Regions from separate parts of the Homo sapiens genome. Here all the other regions are linked to region 3. Evidence: promoter capture Hi-C in 16 types of primary human blood cells and fetal thymus (Javierre and others, 2016). All regions are on one chromosome and are shown on one strand. The core of a region is centred on a gene start or on the middle of the fragment in contact, and the rest is flanking DNA. Distances in the headings are between cores, read along the strand shown. Region 1 overlaps SPMIP3 (sperm microtubule inner protein 3). Region 2 overlaps ADSS2 (adenylosuccinate synthase 2). Region 3 holds the start of CEP170 (centrosomal protein 170). Region 4 overlaps KMO (kynurenine 3-monooxygenase). Region 5 overlaps LOC105373262 (a long non-coding RNA gene). Region 6 has its middle 14 kb from the start of SPMIP3. Region 7 overlaps LOC105373262 (a long non-coding RNA gene).

Evidence for each region. Contacts are between HindIII fragments. The CHiCAGO score rates a contact against its expected background, and 5 or more counts as called.
Region 1: a fragment that was not itself captured here is called in contact with the fragment with the promoter of CEP170 in region 3 in 1 of 17 cell types (M0 macrophages); the score reaches 8.0 in M0 macrophages.
Region 2: a fragment that was not itself captured here is called in contact with the fragment with the promoter of CEP170 in region 3 in 1 of 17 cell types (neutrophils); the score reaches 11.1 in neutrophils.
Region 4: a fragment that was not itself captured here is called in contact with the fragment with the promoter of CEP170 in region 3 in 1 of 17 cell types (M0 macrophages); the score reaches 5.4 in M0 macrophages.
Region 5: a contact is called between a fragment that was not itself captured here and the fragment with the promoter of CEP170 in region 3, in 10 of 17 cell types (fetal thymus, M0 macrophages, non-activated CD4 T cells and 7 more). The highest score is 13.0, in fetal thymus.
Region 6: a contact is called between a fragment that was not itself captured here and the fragment with the promoter of CEP170 in region 3, in 2 of 17 cell types (neutrophils and M1 macrophages). The highest score is 5.1, in neutrophils.
Region 7: a fragment that was not itself captured here is called in contact with the fragment with the promoter of CEP170 in region 3 in 2 of 17 cell types (neutrophils and monocytes); the score reaches 6.7 in neutrophils.

Annotation. Positions count from the first base shown.
Region 1 is chr1:244,361,328-244,364,926 of GRCh38, forward strand. It overlaps SPMIP3 (sperm microtubule inner protein 3), which reads left to right. Exons shown (of 5, transcript NM_001012970.3): 2 at 3,361-3,429. The coding sequence starts at 3,374. Among named protein-coding and RNA genes, the nearest start is that of SPMIP3, 10 kb to the left of the region's middle. RefSeq lists an enhancer at 367-1,192. The HindIII fragment of the contact is 2,049 bases long and covers 594-2,642 here.
Region 2 is chr1:244,424,844-244,428,350 of GRCh38, forward strand. All of the region lies in intron 4 of ADSS2 (adenylosuccinate synthase 2), which reads right to left. Among named protein-coding and RNA genes, the nearest start is that of ADSS2, 25 kb to the right of the region's middle. The HindIII fragment of the contact is 4,493 bases long and covers 1-3,507 here.
Region 3 is chr1:243,252,881-243,256,530 of GRCh38, forward strand. It overlaps CEP170 (centrosomal protein 170), which reads right to left and starts at 2,401. Exons shown (of 20, transcript NM_014812.3): 1 at 2,160-2,401. SDCCAG8 (SHH signaling and ciliogenesis regulator SDCCAG8) reads left to right here and starts at 3,161. Exons shown (of 18, transcript NM_006642.5): 1 at 3,161-3,360. The coding sequence starts at 3,294. The HindIII fragment of the contact is 10,208 bases long and covers 921-3,650 here.
Region 4 is chr1:241,559,387-241,562,858 of GRCh38, forward strand. It overlaps KMO (kynurenine 3-monooxygenase), which reads left to right. Exons shown (of 15, transcript NM_003679.5): 6 at 1,279-1,366; 7 at 2,781-2,946. Among named protein-coding and RNA genes, the nearest start is that of KMO, 29 kb to the left of the region's middle. The HindIII fragment of the contact is 1,628 bases long and covers 761-2,388 here.
Region 5 is chr1:244,296,187-244,299,860 of GRCh38, forward strand. The region is part of intron 1 of LOC105373262 (a long non-coding RNA gene); the gene reads right to left. Among named protein-coding and RNA genes, the nearest start is that of SPMIP3, 55 kb to the right of the region's middle. RefSeq lists an enhancer at 3,536-3,605. The HindIII fragment of the contact is 1,560 bases long and covers 1,166-2,725 here.
Region 6 is chr1:244,336,736-244,340,392 of GRCh38, forward strand. No RefSeq gene overlaps it. Among named protein-coding and RNA genes, the nearest start is that of SPMIP3, 14 kb to the right of the region's middle. The HindIII fragment of the contact is 5,430 bases long and covers 1-3,657 here.
Region 7 is chr1:244,317,526-244,321,133 of GRCh38, forward strand. All of the region lies in intron 1 of LOC105373262 (a long non-coding RNA gene), which reads right to left. Among named protein-coding and RNA genes, the nearest start is that of SPMIP3, 33 kb to the right of the region's middle. RefSeq lists an enhancer at 2,007-2,416. The HindIII fragment of the contact is 7,427 bases long and covers 1-3,608 here.

The DNA of each region.
Region 1 (3,599 bases), core at 368-2,867, 1.1 Mb after region 3:
CAAGGATTCTCCTGCCTCAGCCTCCCAAGCAGCTGGGATTACAGGCATGCGCCACCATGCCTAGTTAATTGTTGTATTTTTAGTAAAGACGGGGTTTCATCATGTTGGCCAGGCTGGTCTCAAACTCCAGACCTCAAGTCATCTGCCCACCTCGGCCTCTCAAAGTGCTGGGATTACAGGCGTGAGCCACCGCGCCCGGCCTGTTCTACATTTCAAAATAACTTAAAAAGTGGAATTAGAATGTTCCTAACACAAAGAAATGATAAATTCTTGAGGTGATGGACACCCGCATTACCCTGATTGGATCATTACTCATTGTATGCTTATATAAAAATGGCACATGTACCCCATAAATACATACATCTCTTATATATCTATAATAATTAAAAATAAAAATTTTTGTTAAAAAAGCATGGCAACCCATGACCGATTTATTCCCTTACAAGACTGATTCAGAATTTCTAGGCACTGAGCACTCACTCTGTCTTCAAAGGGATAGTGGGGGCTGTCTTTGTTAGGAGCTCAAAAGCCCTGAATACCTGGCATTCTTCTGTCCAGCCTGTCACTTCCACTGAAGTAAACTCCAGTCACGAAGCTTTCGGAGTTCGGGTTAGCAGATTAACCAAGAGCTCAGCTGTGTTTACTCAGATTTTCTCTCTCATTGTTTCTTCCTTCTTTCTCTTTCTCTCTCTCTCTCTTTTTTAAATAATCACAGCAGTAAAAGTACATTATATAATGATTAGGCTCTGTTGGATAGCCAACTATTCCATTATAGTGTAATGCTGTTTAAAATCTTCAAGTTGCTTTGAAAAACACACTCAGGTGAAATAAAGCAGCTGGCCAGCCGGCAGGCAATGAGTTAACCGTTGTCTATGAAAGGGAAGAGGAGGAGACATCACACACTCTTTTTTTCCAGTCCTTTCTGTCTCCTGGTTACTGAATAGTCCTAGTTTTGTTTTGGCTGATGGTCTGGGTGCCTTGTGATTGTTTTGATAGAGCTAAGAGTTAAAATAAATATTTCTGCAGCCAGAGGGTTCCAGCCCTGGTTCCTTGGTAACCTCATACAAGTTACTTAACTTCTTAGTACCTCAATTTTCTTGGGAGTAAATAGCAGTAAAACTCTGTAGGGTTGCTGGGAGGCTAATAGGAGTTAATACATGTTACCTGGTACATAATCCATGATTGTCAATAGGAACTCACATTTCTCCTTTCTCAAAGATGTTTTCAAGGACACAGAACACTCTCGCACACATCTTTGCCTCATTCAACCCTCCAGAGAGCTATTGTAATCAATGTGGAGAGTGGGAAAATGACCTGCCGCAGGTCACATGGGTCTCAGTCCGATGTTCTCCTGCTACACCACTAGCCATGTTTGTGCAAACCATAGGCCCAGCTGTCTATGCATACATAATAGATATGCAGAGTGCAAAATTCCTAAGGTAAATGGTAAAAAGTATGCCTTTGTCCCCCAGCCACTCAGTTTTCCTTCTCATTGTTTACTCTTTTCCCTGTGAACTTTTTTTTTTTTTTTTTTTTGAGACAGGGTCTCACTGTCACCCAGGCTGGAGTGCAGTGGTGTGATCTTGGCTCACTGCAACCTCCGCTTCCTGGGCTCAAGCGATCCTCCCGCCTCAGCCTCCTGAGTAGCTGGGACCACAGGCATGCACCTCCACACCAGGCTTTTTTTTTTGTTGTTGTATTTTTCATAGAGTTGGGGTCTCACCACTTTATGTGATTATTTAAATGTAGTAGTTTGCTTGTGGCAAGCCATATTCTCCAGTAAATAATCAGATGTGGGCCAGGTACGGTGGCTCATGCCTGTAATCCCAGCACTTTGAGAGGCCGAGGTGGGTGGATCACCTGAGGTCAGGAGTACAAGACCAGCCTGGCCAACATGGTGTGAAACCCCATCTCTACTAAAAACACAAAAATTAGCTGGGCATGGTGGCAGGTGCCTATAATCCCAGCTACTCAGGAGGCTGAGGCAGGAGAACTGTTTGAACCCGGGAGGTGGAGGTGGCAGTGAGCCACGATTGTGCCACTGCACTCCAACCTAGGCGACAGAGTGAGGCCCTGTGAAAAACAAACAAACAATCAGATGTGATATGAAATTTTAGACTAGAAACAACCTATATGTTTAGTCTAGGGTCAGTGGGGAACAGAAAGGGGGCTAACATAGAGAATGAATGGCTTACAAAAAATCCTCAGAAGGGCTGGAAGAACAGGCTCTGGGTGGGGCCCCCAGGAGGCATCTAGAACATCTCCACAAAACTGACCCATCACTGGTAAAGCTATGTCAGTCCAGATCAGGAAGCTGCTTCCAGGAGTATTGAGTTCAAGAACCTACTCCCAACGCCACTGTCTCTGCCACCTAGGAAGCTGGAATTTGAACCCTGGGACACAGACTTCAGCCACTGCCTTCGCAACAATTGCTTCTTGAATGCCCCAAAGCTGGAGATGAGACGCTGGAAAAGTGCCATATGCTCCACAACCTTGCTTGCCAGTAGAGAAGATCAAGGCAGCAGCCTCTGCCTAATGTCCACCTTCCAAATCTCAAGCAAGTACAGCCGATGCAAGGGCGCTCACTCCTAGCCGGGATTCTTGTTGTGAGGCACTCTGGGAAATGTCGTGCTTAGCTTGCAAGCTTGTGAGGTAGGAAGGCCCACTAAGAAATGAGACAGGATCTTGGGTCACAACTGATCAGAACAAAACCAAAAAAACAATGAAGTGAGACAGGAGACTATGCCCAGCTAACATTAGCACAGTACCTTTGCTTTTGCTTTTTCTTTTTTTTTTTGACGGAGTCTCACTCTATGGCCCTGGCTGGAGCGCAGTGGCACGATCCTGGCTCACTGCAAGCTCCGCCTCCCGGGTTCACACCATTCTCCTGGCTCAGCCTCCCAAACAGCTGGTACTACAGGCGCCCGCCACCAGGCCCGGCTACTTTTTTTGTATTTTTAGTAAAGACGGGGTTTCACCGTGTTAGCCAGGATGGTCTCGATCTCCTGACCTCGTGATCCTCCCACCTCAGCCTCCCAAAGTGCTGGGATTACAGGCGTGAGCCACCACACCCGGCCTGCTTTTTATTTTCTTATTGATTTATACTTATTTAATTTTTTTTTACTTTTGGTTTTTAAAGAAAAGCACATCTGTGTGTATTTGCCTTATGCTTGCCATTTCTTTTTGCTCCTTTCTAATCTTGTATTTCCTTCCCTAAATAGCCTATATGCATAGTCCTTCTACCATGTCAAATATTTTTACTGATTTCTTTCAAGATGGACTTTGTGGTACTAGATATCTCACCCATGGAATTATGTATAAACTGGCAATATAATCCTTTATGCCATAATTTTTTTTCAGATTCCCATCCATCATGACTGCCATCCGACTACGAGAATTTATTGAGCGTCGCCCAGTGATCCCGCCAAGGTATAGTTCTTCCAGATGCACAGCCTCCGGGACTGAAGCCAGGCAGCCAGGTGCCTGGGGAGTTAGAATTGCACATCCTGCTGCTCAGTGGTCCAGAGACTACTGCCAGGGAGTTCTAGGGAAGCTCTTTGGATATTTCCTGATGAGCAGGTCTGTGCAAACCTACCGGC
Region 2 (3,507 bases), core at 234-2,733, 1.2 Mb after region 3:
GTCATGCAGCCAAAGCCATCTTTCCAAGACACAAATATGGCATTCACACCTCCCCTGCCCTTAAAACTCCATGGCTTTCCACTGCTCTAAAAAAAGAGACAAAATTCAGTCTACACTTTCATCTTATACCATGCTCTGCCACCCTCACTGCCCTCTGGTCACACTGGCATTCTTTGCAGCCCTCAGCTACAAGGCATGTACTTCTGCATGAAATATTGCCTCTTTCTACACCTACACATAACTTGTACTCCCTCTCTCCCCTGCCAATGCTCTGAGAGTATTAGGATCATGTCAGTTCAGCCTACTAGTTGATTTCCGGTGCAAACATGTCCTCAAATATTTACTGACTCAATAAATAGATGGTTTATAGAAGAGGCAAAACTAGAATTTTGGTCTCTGAACTTCTAACCAAGGCTTCTTGTTTTCTGTTTTGTTTTTAAACAGCTTTATGGGAATATAATTTATACACCACAAAATTCATCCATTTAAGATGTACAATTTACTGATTTTTAGCATATTTAACCATAGCTTCTTTTTGCTAATGATGTCACTGTTTCCAAATAATTAAGTTGAAATGTGTAGATGTTTAACAGAAAGACTGATATAAGGTTCTTGGGATTAGTGGTAGCATCTGTAAAAGAACTATTTAGAACTATTAGAAGACTGATACTGAAGTTATAGATGGTGAAGCTAGAAAAGTCTGATAACCCAATCTAAACCCATCCTCTGATTAACCCTGCCCCTAAAACCATGTATGTACTCTTCTCTAATTCCCTCCTTTTGAGACACTACTAAAACTATCAAGGCAGTCCTCCCCCTGTGTTTGGCAAGGTTAACAATCATATCTTTTTATGATCAAAGGTTTCCCTGGTGTGTTAGTAGAAAAGTTTTGATGCTGTACATACTAATTAGTTATATTTCAGAAGCTAAATATGTGTGATTTAAAAATATCTAGTAAGCAGTATCTGTCTTAGTGCCACACAGTTAGATAAAAGTAACATCTTTAAAGCCATATCAGTATACTGCACACCAAAAGATATCTATCTACAAGAATGCTCAGGGTAATAGTATTTGTAATATCCCAATATTGGAAACAACTCAAATTTTCATCAATGGTAGAATGAATGGATTTTTAAAAGTGTGAAATGGTCATATAAGGGGATACTATATAGCAATGAAAAAGAATAAATACTCTTTATGTAAACAATAATTCTGAGCTATAAGGGTTAGTTTATCATCATGTTCCCATTTTATTGCCCAAGCAATAGTCTTTCTCAGTTACTTGAGAGGCCAGAATAGTTCTGAAGGGCTGTTTTAAACCCTGATTTTGCAAATCAGTCATGACAAGACTGAGATCTTAGAGTACGCCATTCTCATTTCTTTTGAATAAAAAGACATTTGAATGTAAATGTTTTGTTTTCTATGCTCAAAGAAAGTAAAAAAGCAACTGACAACACACAAATAAATGGTTGATGGAAAGCAGGTGAACCATATTTTTCAGAAATTAATTTAGTACCTTGTCATAGAACTAATGCTTTCCTTGGTTTTTCTAGGCCCCAGGAAGCAATTACTGTAATCAGAATAATTACTTTCATAAGACTTCACCATGGCATGGAGCATTAATGCCTCCACTATTACTGTTTTGAAAGAACAGCCTTGGAATATCTGTTTCACTTTCTACAGCCTAGATACTGCAAACAAAAAAAACCATCATAACTGTGCACCTTTAGCTAAGTTTATTAACAGCATTTTTAAATTTTTAATTTACTATTATAGTTAAGTTTTATTAATATGATTAATGTTATACTATGCTTGGTGTGAGACTTGGTACATGTAATAGCCACTTTGCTTGCTTTCTCACATCTCCCTGAGGTCTTTACTCAACTGTCACTTTTCAGTGAAACCTCCCTGGCCACATTATATACAATTGTAGGCCCCTACCTCCTCCTCCAAACTGCCTGCCATTGCCTAGCTCCTTTCTCTGAGTTACTATTTCTCCTCAGAACTGAGCACTATATGCCATGCTACATCGATTACATATTTCTATTGATATGATTTGTTTTCACTAATACATGATATGCTCCATTAAGGGATGCTTTTGGTTTTTTCTACTGCTGAATCCTTAGTGCTCAGCACCATACCTGACACAGTAGGCATTTAATACATAGATATTAAATAAAAGAACAGCCACCTAACTAATCTGGATTTCATATTTAAATTTTAAGTGTCTCAACCACTTCTCAGGCCATTTTCCCTGAAAAAGCATCTCTTATAGTACAAACTGAATTATGAGATTCAGTGAACAGGGCAAAAGGTTAATGCAATAGGTCCTTGCATTAGTATACTAATGTAAAGAACTGGCCAGCAACTTAATAATTTTTAAGTTTCCTTAAAAAAATCAACTGTTTAAACCTTCTAAGTGAAATATTTGAAGGTAACTCAAGTAACGTAAAAGATGCATATTACAGCCCCTAGAGCAACTACCAAAATTCATAAATTCATAAAACAAGAGGTATAGCTAGTAAGTTAACAGTGGAGATAATATTAAAAATGTTCAATCGAAAAGAAAGCAGGAAAAGAACAAATAAAAAGAAAACGAAGGGCAGACATAAATCCAACCATAGTGATAATTAACTATAGTAAAAGTAACTAGTCTAAACATTCCAATTAAAGGATGAAATTGTCACAATGAATAAAATGCAAGACCCACCTACATTTTGTCTATAAGAAATACATTATAAATCTAAAGACACAGATACACTAAGGATTATTAGAGGATGGAAAGCGATACACCATGCAAACAGTAATCTTAAGGCAACTCTAGTGGCTATATTAATATCAAAGTAGATATCAGAATAAGGAATATTACCATAAAAAGGATATTGTGGTATTAACAATCATAGCTTATTAGATACTTTTAAATCACATAATACAAATTTAGCTTCTGAAGTGTAACTAATTAGTATATACAGCATCAAAACTTTCCTACTAACAGTACCAGGGAAACCTGTTGATCATAAAAAGCTATGGTTGTTAATACCAAAGAGGATATTTCATAATGAGGAAAGGTTCAATGCATCAAAATCAGAATTGTAAACATACATGTACCTAACAGAGCTTCAATGTGCATGAAGCAAAAACTGACTGACTTGAAAAGAGAAACAGACAAATCCACAATTACTGTTGGAGGTTCAGCACTCCTCCGAGTAACTGATAGAATACACACATAGAAAATCAGTTGGGATATAGGATTTGAACAACACTATCAAACAATTTGATTTAATTGGCATTTAAAGAACACTCTACTCAACAAGAGCAGAGCACATATTCTTTCTAAGTGCATGAAGACATTATCCAAAACAGACCACATCCTGAGCCATAAAAGAAGTCTCAACAAAGATTAGGATCATACATATTCTCTGTTCACAATAAAATTAAATTATAAATAATAGAGAGAAATCATGAAAATCTTCCAATATTTGGAAACATGAACATCATACTCAACTT
Region 3 (3,650 bases), core at 1,151-3,650:
AATAAAAAACATAAAGTTAATATATCTTAAAATGTAAATTCTAGTTTAAGTTAAAAGTAATCACTAATAACTCATTAATGATTACAACTCATTAACTGTGGCAAAATAAACATCATAGGTTCTTGTTATGCGGAAATTTTATTTTTAACACAGCCTATAGAGTTGATCATCATACTATTATAAAATACTATTGATTTTCAAGAAATAATATTAAAACCTACCGTTAAGTAGCTACCATTAGGTAGTAGGGAAAACACTGCAACACTTCGTTTTTATGAAAAGCACATGTTAGGACATCTTTCCTCATGTAGTAAGTTACTTTATGAAAGTAAAGGTCCATTTTAGGAGGATTACTACTTTTACATCACAAAGGCAAGAACTAGATTAATCACGGTGAGAATCAAGTTCAGTGATAGTCACAGCCTACTCAGGGAGCACATAGAGAAGCTTTCCATACATTTTCACAAGGTAAAAGGGCTAGGGGGACACAGGAAAGATCACTCTGCAGAATGGACCTTGAGTTTCGTTTGGCTCTGCCTTCGATTAACTGTCTGGCTTGGGCAGACAAGTCAGTTAACTTTCTGAGTTTTAGTGTCTTCCTCTGTCAAGTGCACTTGGGCTCTTCCGTGTTATCTACAAAGTTAGGAAGAGCTAAAGGCAGCCCTAGTTTTACTTTTTAAAAAATAATAACAGAAAAATACATAAGTTGCTATTCATCAGTGTACTGTTTCCAGAGCTGAATTCCTAAGTCTCTGAAGCATACCCAGTTAGGGTTATACCAGTGAAGATCCAGATACTATAGTCATAATGTCACTCTCTCCTCTCCCATTATTCCTCCACCTGCTCCTCCCCATCCTGCTTTATTCTCTCTTCTGGTGTGTTTTAAGAAGCAACGCCAGCAAACGGCTGCATACATTGTAAGCTTAAGGATTAAATCATTTTAAAATATGCATTTTCAATCAAATGTATCATCTGCTTCGCCAAATTCCTCCCAAATGGCTGAATTTTCATTAAGAGAATAAAAATGAGTTAACAACTTCGGTAACAGAAATGTACTGGGCCAGTTGTTTTGTTTGTTTTACTTGCTTAAAAAATAAACGGAAAGATGTATCCATTCCCTCAGGAACATAAATGCATTACCTGCCCAATGAAAAAACAATTCTGCTTGTTCATTTCCCTGACACAACAGCTTCGTTGTCAGGCCCTCTCTAGCCCAGGCTCCAACGTCACCTAGTAATTTTATATTGATCACCTTGGCAGTGCTTGGACTCCAGCAGGCATAGTCCCTGTCTTCCTTACATTCCTCAAAATAAATAAATAAATAAATAAATAAATAAATAAAACTCTACGAAACACCACCGAACAGAGATTCTGTGACTTAGTATACAAATCCCACGTCTTCCCGCCCTGTGTTAGGCAGCTGCAAATGTTATTTTTTCATCGCTTGCATAAAATGGAAGCGAAACGTACCAAAACCCTACATCTGAATCCTAGGACAATGAAGCCGACAGGAAGCCACTCTCTCCTCCCCCGGGTTTACTACAGAGCCAGAGCCTCCACGGGGTGCAGTCGCCAGGCAGGGTGCATGACACCGCGTCTTCCACGCCCTCCCAACGCGTCCAAAAGGTTGCTCGCCTGACCTCGCCAACCGCCTCACACCCCAAAACCAATCACACAAAAGGGATTGGCCCGGGGAGCTGCTCCAATGGGGGAAAAATCCCTTCCCCAGCGGCAGCGCAGCCATTCCCTCCAATGCTCCGCCCGCACCCCTCGCAAACTGCTACGGCGGAGGGGGGAGGGCTGCACAAAGCCAGTCGAAAGCTGAAAATGATTCAATGCACTTAGGGGATGCGGAGGCGGCAGCAAGGGGCTCGGGAAAGCCGGGGGGCCGCAGGACTGGAGCTCCGGGGGGCGGCGGGTGGGGGATGGGAAGGGTGGTCCCGTCAAGCCCCGGGTCCCAGGCGGGCAGAGGGTGGGGGTGGCGGCGCCGCGCGGAGCACCCGGGAAGCGCCCCCTTCGCGGTCCAGCCCCGCACCCCCGCCCCGCGGCGGGCGGCGCCCGAGTCCTCGCCGCAAACCCGAGGAGCAGGATGTGGAAAGCAGCCGCGGCGGTGGCTGCGGCTGCGGCGCCTACACCGAGCAGCCGATCGCATCACTTACCCCTTACCGTGGAGAGAGGGACCGGACGGGGGAGGCGGGGCGCGTCGCGTCCCGTGAGTCTCTCGCACGCCGTCCTCCCCCCACCTCGTCGTCGTCGTCGTCGCCGCTGTTGTCGTCGCTGCCGCTGCGGTCGAGCTCCGGGGCCCTCAGCTCCGCTGGGCAATAACGTTATTCCACACACGCCCCACACATAGCGGTAACGGCAAAGACCGACTGCCTAGTGCGCAGGCGCCTCGGGAAAGGGCGAGGAGCCGGACCCTATCCCCTCCTGCCCAGTTCCAACGATCCCTTACTGCGCAGGCGCCACACACAGACAATGAAAAGGGGTTGTGCGAGGGTCTCACCCACACGCTTTTCCAGCTTGCCCACTGCGCAGGCGTGCCCCGAAAGACCAGCTTGAACAATGAAGAGGACCTCGGCGTTAGGTGGGACCGCAACCAACAAGGACTACAGTTCCCAGCGGGCAGAGCGCCAACTCCAAGTGAAGGTCCGGTTGCTGGGCATGCTAGGAGTTGTAGTGTCGGCCGCCTTTACAATCTAGGCTGTTTGGAAGATTTAGAGCTTCTATTTCTTGAAGATTTATTCGACCGTTTTAAAAAATCTCGCAACTGAAGCAGGGTTCAGAGTTTACTATCTGCGTCCTTGAGTAGCCTGGGGATCAACTGCTGCATATTAGCAAATTTCGAAGCGTCAAGGCCTTCAGTGAGCCCTTTCTGTCATTTGGGTGGTCCAGGCAGCTGAAGAGTGGGATGGAGGCGGGACTAAACCAGGCTGGGCTGGAGGAAAAGGGCGGGGCCTGCAAGCCTGTCTCTTGGCAGCAGGCTCTGGCAGCCAAACCGTCCAAGCTAGCGCCTGGAGCGCAGTGGTTTCTGGGAATTGTAGTGTAACTGGAAGGCCCTGAGGATTGTCGAGCTTGCAGGTTCTGAACGTGAGGACTACAACTCCCGACGTGCAAAGCGAGGGCCAGTGGGTGGGAAGAGCCCCCAAGAGCTCTGTGCGGGATTCTAGGCTCCCCTGTGACAGCCGCGGCAGGAAGCAGGCGGGCGCTCCCCGGCCACAGGCCTGTTGTTCTCGGAAGGGAGAAAGCTGGACATTTCCCCACGTAACTCCCAGCTCTGGGCCTAGAGTGCGTGCATGGCGAAGTCCCCGGAGAACTCTACCCTGGAGGAGATTCTGGGGCAGTATCAACGGAGTCTCCGGGGTGAGTTGCTCCAAACCTCTGTCCCTAGCCCCGAGGTGCCCAGGGCCTAGTGGGCGGGAGCAGACCAGGTGCGTTTCCTAACACCTGGGTTCTGCCCCGTCCACGCTACAGAGGAGCAAGATGGATGTTGCTGTGGTCTTGAGGAGGATGAAATAGTTTGATTTAGTTTTTACAGTTAAGCAACGATGTTTCCTCAGATTCCCGTAGTTACCTCAATCAACTCCTTGATCTTAACTTGGCATCTTTCTCAACCGGCGACAGCAGAAACTCTTGGATAGCTCTATGCCATT
Region 4 (3,472 bases), core at 325-2,824, 1.7 Mb before region 3:
TTCTACAAAAAATTATTTAGGATGCAAAATACTATATACTTATGTAAAAAATAAACATAATTTTTTAAAAGTTTTTTTCACAAACACATGTTATGTTTCTAAAATATATCCTTAGTATATCAGGTCAATTCTGATTACTTCAAAGTTATTTGCCAAACTACTTCTTCTACATAGATGAATTTCTTTGGTTTAGGGTCTCTCAGATTTTGCAAGAAAGTTAAAATCTTCAAACCCCAAATCAAACTGAAACAAAAAAGAGTAAAATAAGACAAGATTGAGATGAAGAGAGGAGATAAGTACAGGCAGGAATAGAACTCCTGCCTTATTTTCCCCATTTTTTTCAAATTCAACATTCTTTTTATTTACGTTTTTGACATATAAAAACTGTACATAATTAATGTGTACAACTTGATGAGTTTGGTCCTTAATTTTTTCACTTTGTGTGATCTCAGGCATTTTACCTTTACTTCCAGAATCTTAGTTACTCCTTTTTTAAGATGAAGGATTTTGAACTAAATCATCTCTGAAGTCTATTCCAGCTCTAACACCTGTATTCTGATTTATACCTTTAAGAACAATAAATAGGCTATATTTATAGATGAATACATGAGCATTAATAGGGACAAAATCACATTTTACTGTTGTAACAAGGGCATAATTAATAGTTCATAAATTGAAATTCACTCAATTCTCTAGAGTGCTAGCAGGCAAAACAGAAAATTACGAAAATAATTTGTTTCAGTTTATTGAGAGGTTTCAAAGCTTCTTACTCATTTTCCCCCTAACTATTCCAGTGTTTGATTTCAAAGAGATTTAAAATCAACAATCTCTATTTGTGACAACTTCAATCAGAATTCCAGAAAACTAGCTAAAAAGAGATATAGAGACATGCGTAATATGAGGAAAGGAGTTTGACTGAATATTTCCAGTCACAACAAAGCCTCGGATTAGAGGCGACTTCTGAAATATGTGATGCTTGCTTCTTTCCCAGGGTGCTAATAATTACAGCAATGCAAGAGTTTGCACAATGGAATCAGTTGGATGTTTTCTTTTTGAGATGAGGATAATTGATTTTTATTCATCTGTTTTACTACCAAATTATACTGAAATAGTTACCAAACAGTTGTCAAATTACCATTTAAGTGAACTTATTTTTACATTGTTATGAATAAAATTCTCTACCATACTGTTCCCAGAAAACAATTACTATTTCAATTTGATTAAGTGAAGTAAGAATTGAGATTTCATTTCTGTTTGCCTCTTTCTCCATTTCCTCAGCTGCTGAGAAATACCCCAATGTGAAAATGCACTTTAACCACAGGCTGTTGAAATGTAATCCAGAGGAAGGAATGATCACAGTGCTTGGGTAACTACGGGTCAGGTTTTGGACTTCAGAGGTGAAAGCTGGGAGTGGAGAATTGTATCTGCAAACTTTGTTCTTTGGCTCTTTTGAAAGAGTTAAAAGATTATTGAAAGGATCATCCAAATAGTTTCTAGATTCAAGGAATTTTAGATTGCAAATAGGCCCTGATGGCCATCTGAACACCAATGCCAATAATTCTTAATTCTCACACTTGCTCACCTTCCTACTGTACTGTATTCCACACTGGTGACTCTAATGTGCTTCAAACTCTCTCCTCTCTCAAATATACGTGACCCTCCACTGCTCTCCTCCTGTTCTCTTTCCAGGTGCTATTTCTCTGCCTTTCCTTGGATGATTCTATTTCCTCTAAGGTTCCAAGCCTCATATCCCACTCTTGCGATATGCTATGGATCCACGCTCATGGGTTCAACAACCACATCTCTAAGATGAACATTTCCAGTCCAAGCCTCTTTCTTCATTCTAAATCCTTATAGAAGCTCAAATCAATTTATGTTAACTTCTCATCAAACATCCTTGCTGGAACATCTTGCCATTATCTCAAACATATCTAAAACCTTGATCACCTACTTCTCCCAAATCACATCCCATTCCTGACTTCCCCAGAACTAATGCCTGAATAATTTGAATCATTCATGATGTGTTCTTTCCCCTGTCCTCTCCCATTAAATCTATAACACTCCCCAGTCTATCCTACTTTCTACTGGCTTCAGAGTCTGTCTTCCTCCTTCTAGCTGCAGGACAGTACTTCCGGCTCTCATTCCTGCACATGTAATATAATGTGTTGCCATCACCTCATCCCTGTTTTCTGCTCCCTTTGGCATTCGGCCTTCTCTTCAAACTGCCAAGGAAGTTTTCTTAAATTGCAACTCTTCATACATCATTCCCCTAATAGATAATTTCAGTTTCCCTTTTGCCAGAATAATGTTTTAAAATCTTTTATCTTGACATTCAAGATTCTCTTCTTTTCCCCTTCCTTTCTCTCCCTACCTTGTATTCTTTTCTTAAGCTTTTCTTCTAATACCTGTGCTCAAGACAAATGTATTGTTCTTAGAAAATCCTGTGGTTGTTCATACATTCATTCGTACACTTGGAACACTTGCCCTGTTTTCAAGATTCTCCTCCTTCATGCAGAAATCTCAAATCCTGTCACACTTCTGTGGCCTACCAAGTCTTTATTAATCAATATGGTGTTGTGCTATTCTCATAAGCAAACTTATGACTGGGACAAGTGTTTTCATCTAAATGTTACATCTATTAACTCAAAGCTCCAAGTCAAACATGTGAAAGTGAGCTTTCTAAGTTATCTATGGAGCCACTACTTCTCATACCCAGAGGTACATCATCATTTTCACCACTAGACATATTTTTCTTTTGGATGTTTTGTTCTATTTTTCAGATCTGACAAAGTTCCCAAAGATGTCACTTGTGACCTCATTGTAGGATGTGATGGAGCCTATTCAACTGTCAGATCTCACCTGATGAAGAAACCTCGCTTTGATTACAGTCAGCAGTACATTCCTCATGGGTACATGGAGTTGACTATTCCACCTAAGAACGGAGATGTAAGTCCTTGCCCTTTTTCAACCCCTTCCCACAACCCTTGCTCCATGAGCGCGAATGCGTATTCTAGTGCAGTGGTTCTCAGCAGCATGTCTTGATCCATTTTGAGGCCTATCACAAGAACTTTGTAATGAAGAATAAATGGGATGCATGGGTATCTTTTTAACAGCACGATTCTCAGTCCTTCCTTGTTTGATATGCTTTCTGGAGTGAAAAAGAAAGGAGCAGTCTGGGCACAGTGGCTCATGCCTGTAATCCCAGCAATTTGGGAGGCCAAGGCAGGAGGATCGCTTGAACCCAAGATATCAAGACCAACCTGGGCCACATAGGGAGACTCTGTCTCTGTAAAAAATACAAAAATTAGCCAGGGATGTGGCACACGCCTGTGGTCCCAGCTACTCGTGAGGCTGAGGTGGAAGGATTGCTTGAGCCCAGGAGGTCAAGGCTGCAGTGAGCCGAGATCATGCCAATGCACTCTATCCTGAGCAACATAGCCCAATCCTGTCTTGAAAGAAGGAAGGAAGGAAG
Region 5 (3,674 bases), core at 696-3,195, 1.0 Mb after region 3:
TCACAAGCAGTCACTCTCTCAAGCCACCTCCATTCTACAGAAAGCAAACCGCCCCCACGTTGCCGGTGGGGATGTGAGAAATCCCATAAATCCCAGGAAAAGTCAGAGAGATAAAAATACAAATGCTTGCCCCATTTTCCCACACTCCTCAAGGCTCTTTCCATAGTTCCTTTTCCTCTGGTCATTAATGAGAGTGAGAACAAAATGGCAAGGAAAAAAAGGATATTAGGATATTCCTAATATCCGAATAGTCACATGAAGTTTGCATCACGCAGTCACCTGTTCTGTGTCATTTAATCTCACAGCCGTGGAAGAGACAGCATTATTCCCCTTCCTTAGGTAAAGGAGCCAAGATCGTGGAGGACATGTGATTTGTTCAGTCACACAGCAGATAAGACACAGGGCTAGCAGGGAATCGCCAGATCAGCAACATGCCCATCCTGTGTCTTCACGTCTTACCACACGGCCTCCCAATGAAACAAGGAAGCTCTGGAGTCCACAAACAGATCTTGAGACAAAAAAAAAGAAAAGAAAAGAAATAAAAAGCAAACAGGAAACTCTGAGGACTGGGAGCAGGAAGGGGAAGATAGTATATGTAGGCCCAAAGACTGGAATCTTGGCTCAAACACTGCAATGTCACTCTCAGAAGTGGATGGAGGCCGTGCACGGTGGCTCATGCTTGTAATCTCAGCACTTTGGGAGGCCAAGGTGGGTGGATCACTTGAGGTCAGGAGTTCGAGACCAGCCTGGCTAACGTGATGAAACCCTGCCTCTACCAAAATAATAATAATAATAATGATAATAATAATACAAAAGTTAGCCGGGTGCAGTGGCATGTTTCTGTGATCCCAGCTCTTCAGGATGCTAAGGCATGAGAATCGCTTGAACCCAGGAGGTGGAGGTTGCAGTGAGCTGAGATTGCACCACTGTACTCCATCCTGGGTGACAGAGTGAGACTGCCTCAAAAAAAATTAATTAATTAATTAATTTTAAAAAAGAGAGAGAGAGAAAGAAGAAAAGAAATGGATGGAAAATTAAGTGTTCACTTGAAAAAATAAAAATAAAAAAAGTGATAGAAGATACGGCTGCAAAAGCAGCAATGAACTGGCTGAAAGACTGAAGCTCTGTCCTTAGATTGAAAAGTGAGGCGATTCCAATATTCAAAAGCTTGGTACTTTTGTGCCTGACTGAGTTGTAGCCCTCGTCCAAGAGATTGTCCAGGAATGGAGAAAAATAGCTTTATTTGAAGGCAGTGGTAGAAAGAGAATAATAACAAAGTTGTTTTTTAATCCTAAAAGAGCAAGTGTCCAGGAGAGGCCAATTTATAAGGAGGTTCTGGAGTAATGTCAGTAATAAAACCTCCCGGGAAGATGAAATACATGCCACTCTGGCTCTCCAGCTAGTAGGTGCTGATGGGCCCCCAGCAGCCACCAAAATTCTATTTCATTGACTCTTATCCCAACATCCTTGATAGAGGAGATCTAACTTTGCAAAATCCTCTCCAAGTGTTTCGGGGATCTTGGGTTTTGTCGTTTAAGCTCATAAAGAGTTCTCTCACGTTCCTTGGCCCTGGGCCCCTCTGTTGTTTTTTGCTTGTGAAGCCATTTGAGGGCTGCTGTGTGCCACCGTCACAGCTGTGTGGCAAGCCTAGAGTCATGCTGTTATAACCACCCGATGGGTGCTTCCTGCCCACTACACAAACAAAATCCATTCACAGAGACCACAGCATTGCAGATCACAAGGTCAGGAGATCGAGACCATCTTGGCCAACATGGTGAAACCAAGTCTCTACTAAAATACAAAAATTAGCCAGGTGTGGTGGTGCGCACCTGTAGTTCCAGCTGCTCGGGAGGCTGAGATAGAGTAATTGTTTGGAAGTGGAGGTTGCAGTGAGCTGAGATCGCCCCACTGCACTCCAGCCTGGTGACACAGCAACACTCCGTCTCAAAAAAATAAAAAGAGTTTAATTGACTCGAGGTCAGTCATGCCACATGGGAGATGGAGTTATCACTCAAATCGACCTCACTGAAGGCTCAGAGGTTAGGAGTTTTTGAAGGGTAGTTTGGGAGAAGGGATGGAGGTGTCTGGGCAATGGGTGCTTGCTGCTGATTGGCTGGGGGTGCAATCATAGGGGTGTGGGAAATGGTCCTCCTGTGCCTGAGTCCTTTGTGGGTGGGGCCACAGGAGGGGTCAGTGGGTCTAGGTGGAGGCATGAGTGTCAGACATCAAAAAAAAAGACTGAAAAGATATCCCAAAGGCCAATCTTAGGCTCTATAACGGTGATATTATCTGCAGGAGTAATCTGGGAGGTTGCAAATCTTATGACCTGCAGAATAATGGTTGGCAATCATTTATGTCTACACCTTAGCAGAATTCAGGCTCCTCTACCCTGCTAGCCTGGTGGTCTCTCATTACTTTTACAAAAGCAGCTGACTTTGGGGAAAGGGCTATTATCATTTAACTCTCAAAGTTAGCTTGGCCTACACCCAGAAATATTAACAATTAATGGCAACTTGAAGGCTAAAGGCAAGATGAGGGTTGGCTAGATCAGATCTCCCTCACTGCCATAGTTCTCTCACTGACCTAATTTTTGCAAAGCGGTTTCACTGTGTTTCTTGTAAAGGTAGAGGAGAAAGCCCCTCTCCTCCCTCCCTCCCTCTGTGTCACATTTTATTACTTGTGTTAGTGAGCACTAAAAAATGTAAGTCCTGGGTCTTGTGTGAAAAGCTTGCAGTTTTAGGCTGGGCGTGGTGGCTCACACCTGTAATCCCAGAACTTTGGGAGGCCGAGGCGGGTGGATCACCTGAGGTCAGGAGTTCGAGACCAGCCTGACCAACATGGTGAAACCCTGTCTCTGCTAAAAATACAAAATTAGCCGGGCATGGTGGCGGGCGCCTATAATCCCAGCTACTCGGGAGGCTGAGGCAGGAGAATTGTTTGAAGCCGGGAGGCGGAGGTTGCATTGAGGTGAGCTCGCACCACTGCACTCCAGCCTGGGCAACAAGAGCGAGACTCCAAAAAAGGAGACAGAGAGAGAGAGAGAGAGAGAAACGAAAAGCTTGCAGTTTCGACATGCCCTGCTTCTCTGCAGAGACACAAGTCCATGACACTGGTGTCGTGGTTCCTTTTCACTCTCATTGTTTTGGTTGTTTCAGTTCTTTCCCCCCATTTCTCAAACAATCTCCTCCCTCTACTGCAACCAAAAAGCCCCATGCCTCTTCTCCCACCACCCTGCAGACTCAGACAAGACTGCATCTCAGCTTGCTCTCAGGCTGAGAGCACTGATAGCTTGGCTTTATCTAGCAGACAACAGGAAGCCTCTGAAGGGCTCTGGGCAGAGAAATCGTTAGGAAGATGCATCTTGGCAGTAGTTCCTCAAATGAATTGGGCGGTAGTGAAACGTCTTGATTCTCAGAGCAGACTCAGCGTGGGACGGCACACTGGTGCCACCTGGAGGCGGCCGGCCTCAATTACAGACGCAGTTTACAGAAAGCTGACAAAACCCTTCTGAAACCAAATCTGAAACAGAAAGCCATCGAGTGACTTTTTAGCGCTACAGGAAGAGTGGTCTGTTTATTTGGGCTAAGCCAGCAAGGAACAAAACTTCAGGGAAGTGGCCCTGCTAGAGACTCTAGGACTAGCCTGGCCCTCCATGTCCTCCTTTGGGAGAGGCT
Region 6 (3,657 bases), core at 215-2,714, 1.1 Mb after region 3:
TCAGCTGAAGTGTCCTAGTCCATGAAAAGGGTACGATTTCTCTTTGCCGAAGAGACAATGCGGGAACCTTAGGAGAAAACAGCAGGAAAAGACATTGCTGCCCAGGTGGACACACATCTCCTCCAGGTGCGCTTTCCTTGGCTTTTGAGGCCTCGTATATTTGGACGTTGAAGGCGTCCCTCAGGTACCACCTGGAATGGTTTGTGCGAGTGGAGCTCTACTACCAAATGAAAACTTTCAATTACATTATTGTGCATAATGGACTTGGGGGCCTTTTTAAAGCAAAGGAAGTAACACTGCAGGAAAGGCAAAATGGAATTAAAGAAGCGGAGAGGTAACCATTTGTTTTTGTTTGACGCATCTAAGTAATTTTTTAAATGTTTTAATTCACAGGGTTGAAAACCGATGGCTGATAAGATAAATGTAACTCCATGTTTTGTTCAGCTTGCTCAGTGCACTAGAATTTGAGAAAGTTCCCATTAAAAATCTGGTTTCTCTTGAAATATGGGAAGACCTGGCAACACTAGGCCATAGTCCCACAACACGCACCAAGAGTTCAGAGCTGAGTGGCAGCCGCTCCCTCTGGCAGGGTTAGATGACCTCCGACCCCTGCAGGGCACCCCTGTTGTGGTCACTAACCACGTCCGCTCACTTATGCATATCTGCCAGGCTCCTGGAGCATCTACGTTTTCTGATCCCTGCCTCAAAGACTTCCTAACTTTTCCAACCTTCCTCTCTTTCCTTTCCTGGTTTCTTGCCGGCCATTTCACTCACAACAGGCAAAAGTGGTTTTCCTGCCCTGAGAATCTTTTTAAATTGTTCTTGCAAAACAGGCCAAGCGCGGTGACTCACGTCTGTAATCCTAGCATTTCGGGGGGCCGAGGTGGACGGATCTCTTGAGATCAGGAGTTTGAAACCAGCTTGGCCATCATGGTGAAACTCCATCTCTACTAAAAATACAAAAATTAGCTGGGCATGGCAGTGTGTGCCTGTAATCCCAGCTACTTGGGAGGCTGAGGCAGGAGAATTGCTTGAACCCGGGAGGCAGAGGTTGCAGTGAGCCGAGATCATGTCACCGCTCTCCAGCCTGGGTGACAGAGTGAGACTCTATCTAGAAAAAAAAAATTATTCTTGCAAAACATATTAGATGGACCCTGATAGGGGTCACTGACCTTCCCATGAGGTATGAACAAGAAAAGACCAAGCGTCAATAGAAGTAAGGTTTTTCTCTAGATCTGCCAGCGGCCTATGCTGTAACCACGGTTTACTCAGCAACTAGCACCATGCCCAGCATGCTCCATTAGTAAGCTCTGAATGGATGGAGTAATTTTACTATGGTCTTAAGCAGTTTACTCATTTAACCAAATGGTCTCCAAGGTTTGTCCAGCCCTATTTTCTGTGATTCTGTGGGCAAAGATTTCCTGGTGGCTTAATATGACTGAATGCAAGAATAATGGGCAGGGAACCAAAACTCTGCCCAGTGGTTGTTTTTTTTTTCCATAGGTTATTGGGGAACAGATGGTATTTTGTTACATGACTAAGTTCTTCAGTGGTGATTTGTGAGATTTTGGTGCACCCATCACCCGAGGGGTAAACACTGCACCCTATTTGTGGTCTTTTATCCCTCACCTCCATCCCACCCTTCCCCTCAGGTCCCCAAAGTCCATTGTATCATCCTTATGCCTTTGTGTCCTCATAGCTTAGCTCCCACATATCTGTGAGAACATACAGTGTTTGGTTTTCCATCCCTGAGTTACATCACTTAGAATAATAGTCTCCAATCTCATCCACATGGCTGCAAATGCCGTTAATTCATTCCTTTCTATGGCTGAGTAGTATTCCATCATATATATATATACACCACAGTTTCTTTGTCCACTTGCTGATCGATGGGCATTTGGGTTGGTTCCACGATTTTGCAATTGCAAATTGTGCTGCTATAAACGTGTGTGCAAGTATCTTTTTTGCTTAATGACTTCTTTTCCTCTGGGTAGATACCCAAGAGTCGGATTGCTGAATCAAATGGTAGTTTTAGTTCTTTAAGGAATCTCCACACTAAAATCTCTGCCCAATGTTAATTCCACTTGCCTGTAGCCTGTTAACATTTGTTGCTTCTGTGTTAAGTCTGGGTGCATAGGAGTTTACAAGATGTGGAGTTTGGCTTCTGCAAATGATGAACAAGAAAGTCAATAATTTTAAGACAGTGAGAGTGCAATAGGATCACCCCGCAACCCCGCCGGACCACCAGGTCCAGATCTGTGCCATTATCACTCTGTGCTCTTTCATCTCTGACCTTCCTTTCTGGGAAACTATCAGTGACTCTTGGAGACAGATCTCTGATCACAGCCTCTGGATGGCACTTCTGCTGCTGGTCGTTAGATGAGCGGTGCCTCTACAATTATGTTGGTCACAAATGTTGATGCTACAGTGCTGGCTTCCCTGGGAGATTCCATCAGGATCCAGAGGACTAACACCAGCTTCCCTCCCGGATGCTGACTTTGCTCAGAGGAGTGAAGAGAAGGGCCGGGGAGGTCAGGAGGGGAGGCCCACTTGCTGGGGTTGGCCCTGTCTGTTCTACAATGGTTACCAGGCAACTCTGAGGTTACATTCAACTCTCTTGTGAAGGTGATTGCAGGCACGCACTTTGCTTTTATGTGACTTTTTTTCTGGTTTTTGTTTTCGTTTTTGAGACAGGGTCTCACTCTGTCATCCAGGCTGGAGTGCAGTGCTGCAATCAGAGCTCACTATAGCCTCAAACGCCTGGGCTCAGGGGATCCCCCGACCGTAGCTTCCCAAGCAGCTGGCACTGTAGGTATGTGCCACAATCCCCAGCTAGTTTTTTATTTTTGTTGCCCAGGCTGCTCTCGAACTCCCGGCTGGAATCAGTCCTCCCACCTCAGTCTCCCAAAGCACTAGGATTAAGGCATGAGCCACTGTGCCCAGCCACTTTGATATAATTGTATCTCTAAATTAATGAATTGTGTTGAAAACTCTGTCTCTCCAGAAGACGGGTCAAATTTCAATCAAACAAGAGAGGAGATGCTCCCAGAGGAACCAGTCTAAGGTGAGGTGTCTTGCAGGCACGGCACTGCACCCTCACTTAGCCCTCTGGTCGAGGCAATTGTCATTTCTCTGCAGGCTGCTAGAACAGTACGTCCATGCACTGAGGAGAGAGAGTCTGCCAAGAGGAAGCCCGGGCCCGGGGCCACCCAGCTGACACCCTGGGTGTTGGAGCCCACCCAGCCTCACAACTCAGCCACTTAGACTCCTGCACAGGTCCTAGGATTCATTCTGATCCGAAGCAGGAGGATGTGACAGCCTTGACCCCAACTCTCTGGGACTCAACATGCAGCCCGTGGTATTTGCTGTCCAGCATTGGTCTGGTCCCTGATGTTGATAACCAAGCATCCAGCTTATCCCTAAGACTGAGCCTCCCTCCCTCAGTGTATGCTCTGGTTCTTACTGTCAGTCAGGCCCTGGATTTGTCCTTTTTCTGGTAACTGCTCAGCACCCCCCGTGCCTCCTAGATTGGAGGCCCTGCCCAGCCTCCTTTGAGGAAGAAGAAGCATGTACAAACATTTACCAGGTGACTTCAGCATCCCAGCCACAATTCCAGACCCTGGGCCACATCTTCTCCTTTTATATCCTCATGGCAGT
Region 7 (3,608 bases), core at 1,049-3,548, 1.1 Mb after region 3:
TATAGTCTCTCTTTTATGATTATTTAAGCTGTACTTACATTTCATGCTTCATGGCAGAATTATTTAACTTAAGGGCCTTAAATATCAGGATTTGTGGTGGGCCCAAAAGGCAAGGAATGGCATGGGGAACACTGTCTCCCCATGGGTCGTTTTTCTAGAGACAAATGTACTAACCTAGATGGAATAATTCTCACACTGACTTTAGAACAGAATCTGTAAGTTCAGGGTACAGAAGGTTGATCATTTTGGTTAGAAATACTTGAGAGGGGCCAGGCACGGTGGCTCACGCCTGTAATCTCAGTACTTTGGGAGGCCGAGGTGGGTGGATCACGAGGTCAGGAGATCGAGACCATCCTGGCTAACACGGTGAAATCCCGTCTCTATGAAAAATACAAAAAATTAGCCGGGCGTGGTGGCGGGTGCCTGTAGTCCCAGCTACTCGGGAGGCTGAGGCAGGAGAATGGTGTGAACCCAGGAGGCGGAGCTTGCAGTGAGCCGAGATCGTGCCACTGCACTCCAGCCTGGGCAACAGAGCGAGACTCCATCTCAAAAAAAAAAAAAAAAAAGAAAGAAATACATGAGAGGGATTGTTGGATAATCCTACTCACCACGAATCTGGAAGAACGATGTGACACTGCATTAAATTTAACATTTCACCTTGGTAGCTATGCCAATCACTTGGTAAGTTAGTTACCATTTGAGGTTCCAAAAGTAGGTAAAAAGTGAATGAGCCAGGCTCAGTGGCCGAGGCTGAGGCAGGAGGATCACGTGAGGCCAGGAGTTTAAGACTAGCCTGGGCAACACAGCAAGACCCCATCTCTTAAAAAAAAGAATGAAACCACCCTTCAACCATTCTGGTTCTATTCATAAAAGAGTTTTGTGGGGAGGGATAGTTCCTTTTCACAGAGGGCACTGATTAAAAAGCATTGATCAATAATCAATGATTATTCATTTATTCATTTCGGACCTGGCTAGGCCTTAACGGTATTTTTTACAGGAAGTCTTTGCCACAGAGGAATTTGGCCTATGATTTCACAGCCACTGATAGGGCGTCCAGGTTGCTTGGTTTCAGTTGGGCTAGGCCATCCCAGGTGTGAATAAAAAGAAATGGTCTCAAAGTTCAGCCTAAACCCATGGGCCGTGAGGCTGCACGGGGCCATTTTCACTCCCAAGACTGGAATACTGTGTGTATGGGAGCCATTGTCCGTCATGGTCTACAGCGATTCCAGTGCCTGCAGTTGGACTGATGTTCCCAGGGTGCTCAGTGCAGTTAACATCAGCCTGTGTGCAGGGAAGCCCAGAGAGGAGGCCTGAGTTTGTGGTTTGGGGTTTTGTTTTGTTTTGTTTCATTTTGCTTTTAAGTCAGAAGAAAAATAAATCAATTTTTTAATTAAATGTTATCACTACAAGAGTGTAGTAATCTGCTTAAGACTACCTTGTGATTTCCCTCTCTCCCAAGGTTCTTAACAGTAAAAGAACATTGGTTTTTGAAGATAGAAAAGAGAGGGAGGTCTAGGTTGTGAGTTGCATGAATCCCATTTGCACATTCTTATGCCTCTGAGGTACAGAGGCGTTTGTACTTGAGGGTGGCAAGATTTAACAAATAAAAATACAGGTGCCAATATTTAATTCAAATTAAACTTGAATTTCACATAAATAATGAACAAGTTTTGGCATAAGTATATCAAATAAAAGTTTAACAAATATTTAACAAATAAAAATTTAACAAATAAAAATACGGGTGCCAATATTTAATTCAAATTAAACTTGAATTTCACATAAATAATGAACAAGTTTTGGCATAAGTATATCCCAAATACTGCATGGCATCGTGCAGAGTGTGTTCCAGATCTTGCAGGGGCCTGTATTTTATCTGGCAACTCTATTGTCTTTTCAAGTGAAAACTGTGTGGTTATGCAAAGGACCTTGCAAGGCGAGGGGACCAGCAATTTGCCTGCCCATGACAATCTGAAAAGGGGTAGTGAGCTCCAAGAACTGTGATAGGAGGGATAACAAAGAGGAAGACAGCTCAACAAAATCAAACCATCTCGTCAAATACAAATAAATGTAAAAGGGAGTTTACAAAATTCTATCAGTCAAAACACACTGATAGAATTGAGTTGGCAGACAACTGAAACAACATGCAATTGACGGCTTACAATGAACAAGCCATGATTTACAGTCCAAGAGGAGCAGGATGAGGCACGATGGTGGTGGCCATGTTGATTTCCGGTGAGAAATGGAGGAAGTTAATGTTGGCCTGTGGTTTTAGAATTTGTAAAGGTTGAGCAAGCCTCCACTGTGATGACTTTACTCTCTGTGGGAAGACTGTTGCTCCATGAGAGAGGCCCTGACTCAGTGCAGAAGGGAGATGAGAAGAAGAATATAAAAGACATTAAGAAATGACAGCCCTGAGGAAGGCAATCATGACATCCAACCTACAAATCCTCTGAAAACTTAAACTTGCCTTCCCCGGCCAGGACGCAGGCCAATGTATATTCACACACATCAGGGGTTTCCCTGATTTCTAAGTCCCTGAAGAGGCTCGGTGGTGTTCTCAGTTCTAGGTGTGATTTGACAAATTTCTAATGAGAAAATTATACATGAAAGTGTTATTTTTGACCATAAGCAGTGGTTTATGCCTGTATTCCCAGTGCTTTGGGAGGCTGAGGTGGGAGGATTGCTTGAGGCTGGCCAGGAGTTCCAGACCAGACTGAGCAACAAAACCCCGTCTCTACAAAAAACTAAAAATAAAACGTGAGGTGGGGCACAGTGGCTCATGCCTGTAGTCCCAGCACTTTGGGAGGCTGAGGCAGGTGGACTGTTTGAGCCCAGGAGCTCAAGACCAGCCTGGGCAACATAGTGAGACCCCCACCTCTAAAAAAAATAATAATACAAAAATCAGCTTGGCATAGTGGTGCATGCCTCTAGTCCCAGCTACTTGGGAGGCTGAGGTGGGAGGATCACTCGAGCCGGGAAGGTCAAGGCTGCAGTGAGCCAAGATCACACCACTGCACTCCAGCCTGAGACACAGAGCAAGACCCTATCTCAAAAATAAAATAAAATAAAAATTAGCCAGGCATGATGGTACATGCTGAGGAGGCTGAGACTGGAGGATCACTTGTGGCCAGGAATTGGAGGCTGCAGTAAGCTGTGATCGTGCCACTGCACTCTAGCCTGGGCAACAGAGTGAGACCCTGTCTCTTTAAAAAAAAAAGCGTTATTTTAAAAAAAGCTCTTGCACCTCAGTTTTTATTATTTGCAAATCCCTACTTCACTCTGACTTTTGATCACAAACTTTCAATGCATTGAATATAGAATCTAATTCAGAAGAACAAGTTCTGTGACCTTGGCAAGTCACTGCTGTTTCCTTGGTTTCTGTCTCTAAAACACAGGGGGATGGACCAGCTGATTATAAGGTAGCGTCCATCAGCCTGGCTAACATGGTGAAAACCCATTTCTACTAAAAATACAAAAATTAGCCTGATGTGGTGGTGTGTGCCTGTAATCCCAGCTACTCGGGAGGCTGAAGCAGGAGAATCACTTAAACCTGGAAGGCGGAGGTTGCAGTTAGCTGAGATCACGCCACTGCTGCACCCCAGCCTGGG